2 separate regions of the Homo sapiens genome follow, and region 2 is linked to region 1. Evidence: promoter capture Hi-C in human tissues and cell types (Jung and others, 2019). All regions are on one chromosome and are shown on one strand. Each heading gives the region's core, a stretch centred on a gene start or on the middle of the fragment in contact. The rest is flanking DNA. Distances are from core to core; before and after follow the strand shown. Region 1 overlaps ANKRD11 (ankyrin repeat domain containing 11). Region 2 holds the start of FANCA (FA complementation group A).

Evidence for each region. The method cuts DNA at HindIII sites, captures the fragments that hold promoters and counts their contacts. A contact is called where the count stands out against the background at its distance.
Region 2: the fragment with the promoter of FANCA here is called in contact with a fragment that was not itself captured in region 1 in 1 of the 25 tissues and cell types used here (hippocampus).

The regions. Positions count from the first base shown.
Region 1 is chr16:89,472,205-89,478,561 of GRCh38, reverse strand. All of the region lies in intron 1 of ANKRD11 (ankyrin repeat domain containing 11), which reads left to right. Among named protein-coding and RNA genes, the nearest start is that of ANKRD11, 15 kb to the left of the region's middle. The HindIII fragment of the contact is 6,489 bases long and covers 285-6,357 here.
Region 2 is chr16:89,814,973-89,821,820 of GRCh38, reverse strand. It overlaps FANCA (FA complementation group A), which reads left to right and starts at 5,174. Exons shown (of 43, transcript NM_000135.4): 1 at 5,174-5,284; 2 at 5,835-5,944. The coding sequence starts at 5,206. RefSeq lists enhancers at 4,511-4,560, 4,946-5,240 and silencers at 5,101-5,390, 5,621-5,670. The HindIII fragment of the contact is 15,845 bases long and covers 1-6,848 here.

The DNA of each region.
Region 1 (6,357 bases), core at 2,280-4,779:
AGTTGTCAGCAGGATGTCCAGGTTGCTTTTTTGGAGGGCAGTGGGTCCTTGAGACCTTGAGACCCATTCTCTTTGGAAAGTAATGAGTTACCGGGTGGGGGCTGTAGGAGGATGTTCAGTTGTGGTGTGGAGGCGTCGGGTTGCTTAACCTCAGAGGGATCTTTTTTCCTATGAGTTGTGTAGAAGAGGATGTCTTCCATAGATTTGAAGGACGTTAAAAAAAAAACCAACCCCAATGTGGCTTTCCTTCTTTCTCACTAGGGTGATAGTCCGACGTGCATGTCTGTTTCCTGGACCCTGGATGTGAAAATGGGGTTCTTGAAGGCACTGGGAGTGTTTCTCTGCTGGCCCCAGAGGCCTGTGTGTGCTGCTGGCGAGGCAGCTGGGCCACTGTCACTGTGCCCTGACAACAACGTTGGGAACTGTTCCTGAAAGTGTTAAACAAAATTTCAGTTTATTAAGCGCTCCTCTCATTAAGCCATTGTTTTATTTTTCTTTTTTGATTTTTTGGGCTTCTTTTGAAGCCATAATAAATTGGAATAGAAAGAATACATACCAAGAAACAAATATTAGGTCTGATTTTTTAATTTTTTGTTATTATTTTTGAGATGGAGTCTTGCTCTGTCCCCAGACTGGAGTGCAGTGGCGTGATCTTGGCTCACTGAAACCTTCGCCTCCTGCGTTCAAGCAGTTCTCCTGCATTCAAGCAGTTCTCCTGCCTGCCACCACACCTGGCTGATTTTTGAATTTTTAGTAGAGTTGGGGTTTCACCATGTTGGCCAGGCTGGTCTTGAACTCCTGACCTCAGGTGATGTACCTGCTCAGCCTCCCAAAGTGCTGGGATTACAGGCATGAGCCACCGCGCCCGGCCTCTCCAATATTTTTATTATTAAAATGCTAAATACTGCCGGGCCCAGTGGCTCACACCTGTAATCCCAGCACTTTGGGAGGCTGAAGCGGGTGGATCACCTGAGGTCAGGAGTTCGCGACCAGCCTGGGCCACATGGTGAAACCCTGTCTCTTCTAAAAATACAAAAAATTAGCTGGGCGTGGTGGCAGGCGCCTGTAATCTCAGCTACTCGGGAGGGTGAGGCAGGAGAATCGGTTGAACCCAGGAGGTGGAGGTTGCAGTGAGCCAGAATCGCACCACTGCACTCCAGCCTGGGTGACAGAGTGAGACGCCATCTCAGAGAGAAAAAAAAGAAATTACGCGTGGTGGCCCATGCCTGTCATCCCAGCTACTGAGGAGGCTGAGGCAGGAGAATCGCTTGAACATGGGAGGTGGAGGTTGCAGTGAGCCGAGATGGCGCCACTGCACTCCAGCTTGGGCACCAGAGTGAGACTCTGTCTCCAAAAAAAAAAAAAAAGGGGAAATGACTTAAAGGTGATGGCTTTTATACTTCTATTGTGCCTGTTTTCTGAGATATAAATTTAACTAGCTAATTCTCTCGTGTTTTAAATAGTAGACAAAGAAAGACAAGACCAAAGGAGAACCTTTTTCTCTGTTTCTTACTCCGTCTGCTTTTATTAATAGATGCTCACGGTGTGGTCTTCCACTCACTTCCCCTTTCATCTCTGAGCTTAACGAGCTCCTCGTATTATAGATTGTTACCATATCATGTGTTCCAGTCTGTGCCCGTGTATAAACGTGTGTTGTGTGTTACGCGATACTGTGAGATGAGTCTGCCCAGAGGGACTCTGAAGTCAGGACTGTGTCTTTTCCACACCTCTCCACCCCAGCTCTCATCATGCCTCTGAGAGAACCAGATTCAGAGTGTGGTGAGGGGAGGATGAAGTGGTTTGGGGTGGGCCTTGGGCCCCCATCTCTTTGCTGGAAGTGTAGTATACCTCTAGGATATGTGTCCAAACTGTTGGCTGTGAGACCAAGGAGGAGAAGTCTTTTTTGGCAGGCTAGTGCCTGCGGCTTGAGGTCTCAGTGTCTGTAACTGCCAGGCTGCAGAGCCCCACCTGGCTGAGTCAGGAGTGTGTTGTAACCTGCCCACCTGCCCAGGCTGGTTAGAAGCAAGCGTAGGCGTTGGGTCTGCCTGTCCTGGTCCAGGCACCTCTCCTGGTTTGGCCAGGTTTTGGTTTGTATTTATTCCTGATGTTGATGTGTAAATGATATCGTTACAAAGCAGGTAGTTTGCTTTGCTATTCTACGAATAACCCAAGAACCTGAGGATAATAGGACACGTTAACAGTCTGCTAGTTGAGAGTTCTGTTTCTGTGACTTCAGGGGACATATGACCATCCCGATTGTGGTGGGTTATTAAGGCTGTGACAAGTCACAGGTGGCTTTAGGGATGTCAAAGATAGGCAAAGATAGGTTCATTTGAATTTGATTTCATCTTTTGAGAATGGGTTGGTATACCTGAAATTGGCTTTGTAGTTTTGGTATTTTGATGTGAGAAGGCATTGGCTGAATTTTTTTTGTTCTCATAATTTGCATATTTTCTGTGTTTTCTCCATTGTTTGGCTCAGTTGTTTTCTTTTTCTTTTTTTTTTTTTTTGAGACACAGTCTCGCTCTATCACTCAGGCTGGAGTGCAGTGGCGTGATCTTGGCTCCCTGCAACCTCCACCTCCCGGTTTCAAGCACTTCATCTGCCTCAGCCTCCCAAGTAGCTGGGACTACAGGTGCCCACCACCACGCCTGGTTAATTTTTAAATTTTTTTAGTAGAGACAGGGTTTCACCATGTTGGCCAGGCTGGTCTTGAACTCCTCACCTCAATTGATCCACCCACCTTGGCTTCCCAAAATGCTGGGATTCCAGGTGTGAGCCCCCGCACCTGGCCGGGGTCAGTTGTTTTCGTGTTCCTTATCCCTCTTTAAACTTGGGAGAGCATTTTGTGTTTCGTGGAGATATCACAGCATAGAACAGAATTTTGATTGTAATTGTTTGTTGTTGACTTGCTGTAGTACTGTTTTCAGACTTCCAGTGTGAACGATAAAAGATTATCTTAAAATTTTAGGAAAAATTATCTTTTGTGTGGGTAGTGAATAAATAATTAGCATTAATGTTACCGATGTCTTCTACCTAGTTCTTTATCAAAATTCTTTTCCTGACTGCAATATTTCATTTTAATAGAGAATAATTTTCATGTGAAACTGCTTGCTTTATATTTTCTTTCTGGTTGCTATAGAAACAGTGCAGCGTGGTGGGTTACGGGGCTTTCATGAGGGAGCTCTCTGGGAGGCAGCAGTCACCTGGTGATGAGGGAGGGGAATGGAATTGTCTTCTTTCACATCCCAGCTTGGCCACGGAGCCTCAGGAGCTGCATCATCAGAATGATTGGATTTTCTTGTCCCTCCAGCTTAAATGCTGTGGGCTTTGTTCTCCAGTGGAGTGGTCATTGCCTTTTTTCCTACCTGTGAGTTAGTCCATCTCTCCAACCCACTGACGACCCAAGAGCTCCCCAGCCTTTCTCTGCCCGTCACAGTCAAGAGGGTCTGTTGGAAAATTACTGACTGAACAACAGATGCCAGAGATTGCCCTGAATTGTGGAAGTCCCGGCTGCCACCCCCTTACTTGAGGTCCTCATCTCACTGCACCAGCAGGGGTGAGGAGAGGGCAGGGGTGGCCCTGCACAAAGCTGGGGAAGAAAGGAGGCAGCTCCCGGCCAGGCAGGGCCCAGCTTTCCTTCTAGATCATCAGCACAAATTTGCGTTTGAAGATTTAACTTACATTTTATTTTTTTATTTGGATGATACATGTGTAAGTTTTGGGATGTTATGCAGTGTTCTGAGGATTGACGTTGGTGGCATATGTAACCTTGAAGGCAGCATTTTGTTAATTATAAAAAACTTGGAATATAGTGATTGAGTATGAAATAATTGAAGCTGTGAGTTCAGTTATGAAGAACTTGGTCTCGGAGTCTCTCTGAGCTTGGGAGGCTGCCTTGGTCTCAGTGGGGTTGGCATCATGTGTGTTGGTGGTAGGTTGGAAAGAGCATTTGGAGTTCTGAAGAGTGACCTGTGCTGCCTTTCTGGCAACCAGTCATTATTTGTGCATGGAAGGAAGTAGCATGGATGAAAGCTTTTCTTTCAAATGGGATGATGTGTGGGGGTATATTTCTGGTCTTAAATTTTTTTTTTTTTTTTTACATAAGGTAGAGACAGGGTCTCACCATGTTGCCCAGGCTGGTCTCAAGGTCCTGGGCTCAGTCATTCCTTCCACCTTGGCCTCCCATAGTGCTGGGATTACAGGCATGAGTCACCATGCCAGGCCAGTGTATTTATTTTCTACTGCTGTGTAACAAATTGACACACAACACATTTATTATCTCACAGTTTCTGTGGGTTGGAAGTCTGGGCACAGCTTAGTGGGATCCTCTGCTCAGGGTTTCATCCGGTTGCAATCTAGGTGTTGGGTGGGACTGTGATCTTATCAGAGGCTCGAGTGGGGGATGGTGTGCTTTTGAGCTCTTTCAGGTTGTGGCAGAAGTTATCTCTTGCTGATTGTGGGACGCAAGTCTTTGTTTTCTTGTTGACTGTCCCTTGAGGTCTCCTCTTGACTCTTAGAGGCCCCCTGTACTTGCTTGGCGCATGGCCCCTTGCAGCTTGGCAGCTCACTTCAAAACAGCAAAGAGTCTTCTGCTTCAGTAGACTAAGTCTTACGTAACATAATGTAGTCATGGGAGTGACAGCGCAGCAACTTTGCCACCTAATGCAACCCAGTCAAGGGAAAGCCATTCCATTGTTTTCACCACATTCTGTGGGTTAGAAGCACGTCACAGGTCCCACCCGCCTTGCACTCCGGGCAAGGTGGCTACAAGGAGGCATGGACACTGGGTGGGGAGATTGCCAGGCTCACCTAGGGTCTGTCTGCTGGCCTGGGGTGTTCTTCAGAACCCTCATTCCCTGGATACTGACATGTCAGTCTCTGGGAATTGGTTGCATCTCTCTCTCCTCCATGACGTATCAGTCTGTGGGAGAGCGGTGCGTCTCTTCTCTCTCCTCCATTTGCATGCATTCCCGGACCCACTTGTAGAACGGAAGTAGAATCAAGACTCGTGGCCACAGTTTGGGTGGATGGGACACTTGGGCTTGCCCTGGTACTATCAGGCTGTTTGCCCTATGCCTTGCATTTCCCACTGTCCTGCCTGCCTCTCAGGCTTATGGTGAGGATGAGGTGAGATGAGATGATGGATGTGGTCAGTGAAGCAGCTGGTCAGGGCCTGGTGGAATTCTACTCTAGTCCAGTCTGCCTCTTTCTCCACCTCTATTCTCTAGGCAGAGATTGGTTATTTTCAGTAGTAAGTATGGACTCATCAGAGTTCTTGAGGTCTTTGCTTCCTGCCTCAAATTCCCTTCTCTCCTTTCCCTGACTGATGCCTACTCATCCTTCAGGCCTCCATGTTCCCAATGATCCTTTTTTTTTTTTGAGGCAGGGTCTTGCTTTCTTGCCTCGGCTGGAGGGCAGTGGTGTGATCCTGACTTATTGCAGCCTTGACCTCCTGGGCTCAAGCCAAGCTGTCCTGGGTAGCTGGGACCACAGGTGTGTACCACCACACCTGGCTAATGTTTGTACTTTTTGTAGAGTCGGGGTCTCACTGTGTTGCCCAGGCTGGTCTCCCAACTTCTGGGCTCAAGTGATCCTCCTGCCTCAGCCTCCCACAGTGCTGGGATCACAGACATGAGCCACTATGTCTGGCCCCCAGTGAGCCTCTTGATCTCATGGTTGAGCTCTTTTTTCACTTGTGACTTCTGCCATTGGTTAGATTCTCACCTTTGGTCTTGCGGTGCTCTCTGCTCCCCTCTGTGGTAATAATTTATTGTTGTGTTGTAATTATCTTTTACTTCCTTTCCACTAAGTGATATTCATTGGATCCTCAAATAAAAGGCTTGGCACACTTAGGGCAGATACCTAATAAAACAGTAACACCTCTGTGGTCAGTATTTAAACGGTGTGCACAGCCATTAGAATGGAATAAGCTGGGCGCAGTGGAATGGGAGGTTGATGTTGCAGTGACACATGAATGTGCCACTGCCCTCCAGCCTGGGGGACAGAGCAAGAGCTCATCTCAAATAAATCAATAAATGGGTCAGAGGAGTGTGATGTGCTGGTGACTCGGGTCCTGCTCTGCCGCCGGAGCTTTTCCAGCCTTGCTGCTCCTTTGCTTTGGATCTTTTCATTCCTAGGTTTATTGTTGAGTCTGAGACGGTTTTTTTTCTCCCTTCCCCTTCCCCTTAGTAAATGTGCAGATCTCCTGATATTGCACCTGACTTAGAGATCTTGGTACCGTCCCTACAGATCCACACAAACACAAAAGCACAGGTGATACTCAGGTTGGAACATGAAGATGCAAAGTCAGCATCCCCATTTGCCTCTCACTTTTCTGTCTTCCTTAGCTGTGTC
Region 2 (6,848 bases), core at 3,925-6,424, 340 kb before region 1:
AACTCTGTGCCTCAAAAAAAAAAAAAACAAGAATGGGACATGCTGAGATGTGTCACTTAGACACTAGTTCCTGTGTGAACATGGGGTTGACAAGCTCCTCCCCACGTGACAGCAAACATCGTCTCAGATGGTGAAAGCACCTCCAGTGCCCGCCCAGGGGCCTGAACGTTGTAAGATGAGAGAACTAGGCTGGACGTGGCGCCTCACACCTGTCGTCCCAGCACTTTGGGAGGCTGAGGTAGGAGGACCAAGAGCCTGGGAGGCGGAGGCGGAGGTTGTAGTGAGACGAGATTGCGCCACTCTAGCCTTAGTGGCAGAGTGAGACCCTGTCTCAAAAAAAAAAAAGGCCAGGCGCGGTGGCGCACGCCTGTAATCCCAGCACTTTGGGAGGCCGAGGCGGGCGGATCACCTGAGGTCAGGAGTTTGAGACCAGCCTGGCCAACATGGCAAAACCCTGTCTCTACTAAAAATACAAAAATTAGACAGGCGTGGTGGCAGGCACCTGTAATCCCAGCTACTCGGGAGGCTGAGGCGGGAGAATCGCTTGAACCTGGAAGGCAGTGGTTGCAGTGAGCCAAGATCATGCCACTGCAGTCCAGCCTGGGCAACAGAGTGAGACTCCATCTTAAAAAAAAAAAAAAAAAAGAATGCAGAAGTTCCTCACAACTCATGGGCATAATTCTCCCCACACTGCTCAGTGACAAGGCAGAGGCAGAACAGGCCATTATAAAAGATGTGCCAGATCAAAGGACAGATGAACTTTTCTTTTCTTTTCTTTTCTTTTCGAGAGGGAGTTTTGCTCTTGTCGCCCAGGCTGGAGTGCAGTGTCATGATCTCAGTTCACTGCAAGGTTTGCCTCCCAGGCTGAAGCGATTCTCCTGTCTCAGCCTCCCCAGAAGCTGGGATTACAGGTGCCCACCACCACAGCCGGCTCATTTTTTGTATTTTTAGTAGAGACCAGGTTTCTCCATGTTGGGGACGCTGGTCTCAAACTCCTGACTTCAGGTAATCTGCCCACCTCGGCCTCCCAAAGTGCTGGGATTACAGGCGCGCGCCACCATACGCTTTTTTTTTTTTTTTTGAGACAGAGTCTCAATCTGTCGCCCAGGCTGTAGTTGGCATGATCTCGGCTCACTGCAACCTACATCTCCTGGGTTCAAGTGATTCTCCAGCCTCAGCCTCCCAAGTAGCTGCGATTACAGGCACTGGTCACCACGCCCGGCTAATTTTGTATTTTTAGTAGAGATGTGGTTTCACCATGTTGGCCAGGCCAAATTCGAACTCCTGACCTCAGGTGATCTACCCACCTCAGCCTCCCAAAGCGCTGGGATTACAGTCATGAGCCACCCCACTTGTCCTAGACAGAAAATTATCTTTTTTTTGAGACGGAGTGTCGCTCTGTCACCCAGGCTGGAGTGCAGTGGCACGATCTCAGCTCACTGCAAGCTCCGCCTCCTGGGTTCAAGCAAATCTCCCGCCTCAGCCTCCTGAGTAGCTGGAATTACATGCACCTGCCACCACACCCGGCTAATTTTTGTAGTTTTGGTAGAGATGGGGTTTCACCATGTTGTCCAAGCTGGTCTCGAACTCCTGCTCTCAGGTGACCCGCCTGCCTCAGCCTCCCAAAGTGCTGGGATTACAGGCGTGAGCCACTGCGCCGGGCCAAGACAAGAGTTTTGCTCTAGTTGCCCAGGCTGGAGTGCAGTGGCGCAATCTTGGTTTACTGCAACCTTCGCCTCCTGGGTTCAGGCGATTCTCCTGCCTCAGCCTCCCGAGTAGCTGGGATTACAGGCATGCACCACCACACCTGGCTGATTTTGTATTTTTAGTAGAGACGGGGTTTCTCCATGTTCGTCAGGCTGGTCTTGAACTCCTGACCTCAGGTGATCTGCCTGCCTTGGCCTCCCAAAGTGCTGGGATTACAGGCATGAGCCACCACACCTGGCCAATTTTTGTGTTTTTAGTAGAGATGAGATTTCACCATGTTGGCCAGGCTAGTCTCAAACTCCTGACCTCAGGTGATCCACCGGCCTCGGCCCCCCAAAATGCTGGGATTACAAGTGTGAGACACCGTGCCCAGCACCCCTGCCTTTTTTTTTTTTTTGAGACAGGGTGTCACTCTGTCATCCAGGCTGGAGTGCAGTGGCGTGATGGTGGCTCCCTGCAGCCTCAGCCTCCTGGGCTCAAGTGATCCTCTCACCTCAGCCTCCCAAGTAGCTGGGACTATGTAGGGTCCAGCCCTATGGGGCTTAGTGGGTGTTCTCCCCATGTACGGAGAAGAGAGATTGTAATAAATAAAGACACAAGACCAAGAAATAAAGAGAAAACAGCTGGGCCCCGGGGACCACTACCATCAAGACGCGGAGACTGGTAGCGGCCCCGAACGGCTAGGCTCTTTGATATCTATTGCATACATGACAAGGGGGCAGCGTAAGGAAGGTGAATCTTCTAAGTGATTGACAAGGTGAAGCATGTCACGTGATTACAGGATGGGGGCCCTTCCCTTTCAGGTAGGTGAAGCAGAGAAAGAAGGCAGCATACGTCAGCATTTTCTTCTCTGCACTTATAAGAAAGATCAAAGACTTTAAGACTTTCACTATTTCTTCTACCGCTATCTACTACGAACTTCAAAGACGAACCAGAAGTAAGGGAGGAACATGAAAGTGGACAAGGAGCGTGACCAGTGAAGCACCACAGGGAGGGGTTTAGGCCTCCGGATGACTGCGTGCAGGCCTGGATAACATCCAGCCTCCCACAAGAAGCTGGTGGAGCAGAGTGTTCCCTGACTCCTCCAAGCAAAGGAGACTCCCTTTCATGGTCTGCTAAGTAACGGGTGCCTTCCCAGACACTGGCGTTACCGCTTGACCAAGGAGCCCTCAAGCGGCCCTTATGCGGGCATGACAGAAGGTTCACCTCTTGCCTTCCACTCACTTCTCACAATGTCCTTTCAGCACCTGACCCTATACCCACCGGTTATTCCTAGGTTATATTAGTAATGCAACAAACAGTAATATTAAAAGCTAATGATTAATGTTTATAATAATTGATAATTGTCCATGATCATCTCCATAATTTGTATTATGACTGTTCTTATTGTAACGATTTTATTATACTGAAATAGTTTGTGCCTTCGGTCTCTTGCCTCGGCACCTGGGTAATTCTCCGCCCACAGGACTACAGGCTCGTGTCACCACACTGGGCAATACAAAAAATACAAAAAAAAAATTTTGTATTTTTTGTAGAGACGAGGTCTTGCCATATTGCCCAGGCTGGAATTCTTACCTTTGTTACTGTATTTAACGTATCTTTTTCCTCCGGCCATCTTCATGGTTTTCTCTCTGATTTCCACAGTTTGAATACACTGCATGTGTCAGGCAGGGGCTCATATTTATCAAGTTTTGTGTGTGCTCTGAGCTCAGGTCTTTCATTATTTTGGGAAAATTATTGGTAATTTTCTCTTCAAACATTTTTTATGATTTGTTCTTTCTTCTTCTTTTGGGAGTCCTATTACATGCATATGATATCATTTGATATTTTCCCACAGTTCTTGGATGCTTTTTTTAAAAAAAAACTTTTTTTCTTCTTTATTTTCCAACGTGGGTAATTCCTATTTTTCTCAGCTGTGTTGATCCTACTGCTGCCCCATCAGAAAAATTACCTGTTATCAGCGTTCTTCCTTTCTTATAATTTGATGAGTTTCCTCCTCATGCATATTGTTCACCTTTCGTACAAGAGACCTCCACATATTAATCACAGTTAATTTAAATTTCCAGCCTGTTTCAATTTCTCGATCACCTCTGAGTCTAGTCCTGTTAATTGCTTAGTGTTATTTTTTGTTTTTGAAACAGGGTCTTGCTCTGTTGCCCAGGCTGGAGTGCAGCGGCGCGATCTCAGGCTGTTCCCTGAGTTCACACCATCCCCCTCAACCAGCAGATTGCAAAGTGTCCGAGTCGGGCCGTGCAGGAGTCTTTGTGGGGGTTTCATGGACTCCGAATTCTCATTTCTGCTCCATCCCCATCTCATGAATCCAAGGCCCCACTCTGTGCCTCGGCTCTTCGTTTGTGGTGCTGAACGTCATCTACGTCATCTACGCCATCTACGTAATCAACACAATAAAGACGCCTGCCGGGAACGCGGCCCTTCGGCTGAATCCCTTCGGTGGTTCCAAGGCCACTGCCAGAGGATGCGGACGGGTCTCCAGGGCCTCTACTTACCCAGGACTTTGAGGCACATTAGCTTCGCCTAGGCACTCGCTTTTACGAATTCTTATGTTTGGTTTTGTTTTGAGACAGAGTCTCGCTCTGCCGCCCAGGCTGGTTAAAAGATAGGGTCTCAGCCGGGTGCGGTGGCTCACGCCTGTAATCCCAGCACTTTGGGAGGCCGAGGCGGGCGGATCACCTGAGGTCCGGAGTTCGAGACTAGCCTGGGCCAACATGGCGAAACGCTGTCTCTACTAAAAATAACAAAAATCATCCAGGCGTGGTGGCGCGCACCTGCAATCCCAGCTACTCGGGAGGCTGAGGCAGGAGAATCACCTGAACCCAGGAGGCAGACGTTGCAGTGAGCCGAGATCGCGCCACTGCACTCCAGCCTGGGCGACAGAGGGAGACTCCGTCTCAAAAAAAGGAAAAAAAAAAAAAAGAAAAGAAACAAAAGTGATGGGGTCTCGCTCTGTTGCCCAGGCTAGTCTGGAATTCCTGGGCTCAAGCGACCCTCCAGCCTCGGCCTCCCAAAGCGCTGGGAATACAGGCGCGGCTACCGCGCGGTCTCCGGCTGCCGAAACACCGCCCTGCGCGCGGACCGTTCGGCCGCCGGGAGGAACAGCGGCTGCCCGGAGCTCAGAGGCGCGCGCGGCTTTGCGCTCCCCGCGGCGCTCTGAGCCTGCCTCGGCTTGGTTGGCCAGGTGGTCTCTTCAGGACCAACCCCAGTCATTCCCGGCAGGAACCACGCTTGAGGGGCGGCAGTCTGCCCGCGCGAGACGCCCCCGCGGACTACACCGCGGCGGCAAAGCCAAACGCAAAAACTACCTCACCGCGCGCAGGCGCCTCCCCCAGGACCAACATGGCCACGACGCAAGGCCTCGACCTGAGGGGCGTGGCCTGGCCGCCGCCAGCCAACGGGTGTGCGCGCCTGGCCGCAGCCAATAGGAAGGCAGCGCGGGCTCGGGCGCAGGGAGCCGCCGCCGGGGCTGTAGGCGCCAAGGCCATGTCCGACTCGTGGGTCCCGAACTCCGCCTCGGGCCAGGACCCAGGGGGCCGCCGGAGGGCCTGGGCCGAGCTGCTGGGTAGGTGGGCGCGGCAGGCCGCGGGAGTGGGCGGCGTCCGGCCCGGGACGGTTTCGCCGGTTCCCCGATCCCTTCCCGCCAGAGCCTCCGCCGGTCGGATCCCCGGACGCCGCGCCCGGGGGGCTGTGCGGGGTGGGCGCCCGGCTGGGGCGGCGCGGCTGCCTCGGACCCGGCCCCTCCTGCGCCTGGGCGGACGCCCCCAGCCGCCGCCCGCGGGGCGCTCCCTTCTTTCCCGAACGCCGCCCCCGCCGGCCGCCCTGTCAGGCGGGCCTGGGGTGCGCGGCCTGGGGCTCCCCTCAGCGCAGAGGCCGCCCCTCGCCAGCCGTCCCCGGGCTCCCCTGCCTCGGGCCCTCCTGGGCCGTCTTCCCCGGCGTCCGCGGTGGGGCCGTCTCCGTTAGTTTCCCGAGACCTGCGCCCTGGGGAGGAGCCCCGGCCCCTCTTCGGGAGGGTGTCGCTGGTGGGTTTCTCCGCGGCGTCCACCTGCGCGTCGGGCCGGGGACCCCGTGTGTGAATTGTGCTGTGATGGTTTCGAACCGACTTCTCTCCGTAGCGGGAAGGGTCAAGAGGGAAAAATATAATCCTGAAAGGGCACAGAAATTAAAGGAATCAGCTGTGCGCCTCCTGCGAAGCCATCAGGACCTGAATGCCCTTTTGCTTGAGGTAAGAGGAAGCTGGTGTCCGTCTGCGGGCAGATTTAGGTTCGGGGTTTTTGAGTCCAGCCACCGCACAGCTTTCCTAAGAAAACACCCGAGGCGGCGGGCGCGGTGGCCTGGCCCGCAGAGGGGAGGGTCGCCTGAGCCCGGGAGTTCTGGACCAACCTGGGCAACGGGGTGAGACCCCGCCTCTTTTATTAAAAACAAAACAACAACAACAAAAAAACAGGCCGGGCGCCGTGGCTCAGGGCTGTAATCCCAGCTTTTGGGGAGGCCAAGGCGGGTGGATCACTCAGGGTCAGGAGTTCGAGACCAGCCTGGCCAACATAGTGAAACCCGGTCTCTACTGAAAATACAAAAATTAGCTGGGTGTGGTGGCGCACGCCTTTAATCCCAGCTACTCGGGAGCCTGAGGCAGGAGAATTGCTTGAACCTGGACCCGGGAGGCAGAAATTGCAGTGAGCCGAGATCACGCCCCTTGCAATCCAGTCTGGATTACAGAGTGAGACTGTCTCACAAAAAAAAAAAAAAAAAAAAAAAAAAAAAAAGCCGGGCGTGGTGGCTCACGCCTGTAATCCTAGCCCTTTGGGAGGCCGAAGTGGGTAGATCACTTGAGGTTAGGAGTTCGAGACCAGCCTGACCAACATGGTGAAACCCCGTCACTACTTAAAATACAAAAATTAGCCGGGTATGGTAGCAGGTGTCTGTAATCCCAGCTGCTCAGGAGGCTGAGGCAGGAGAATCGCTTGAACCTGGGAGGTGGAGGTCGCCGTGAGTGAGATCCCGCCATTGCACTCCAGCCTGGACGACAGTGAGACTCCCTCTCAAAAAAGAAAAAAAGGAAAATAGCCCAGTAGGGAAGCATTACTTACACACAGGTTGTGTTTATGCACAGATCTTGAATTTTTTTT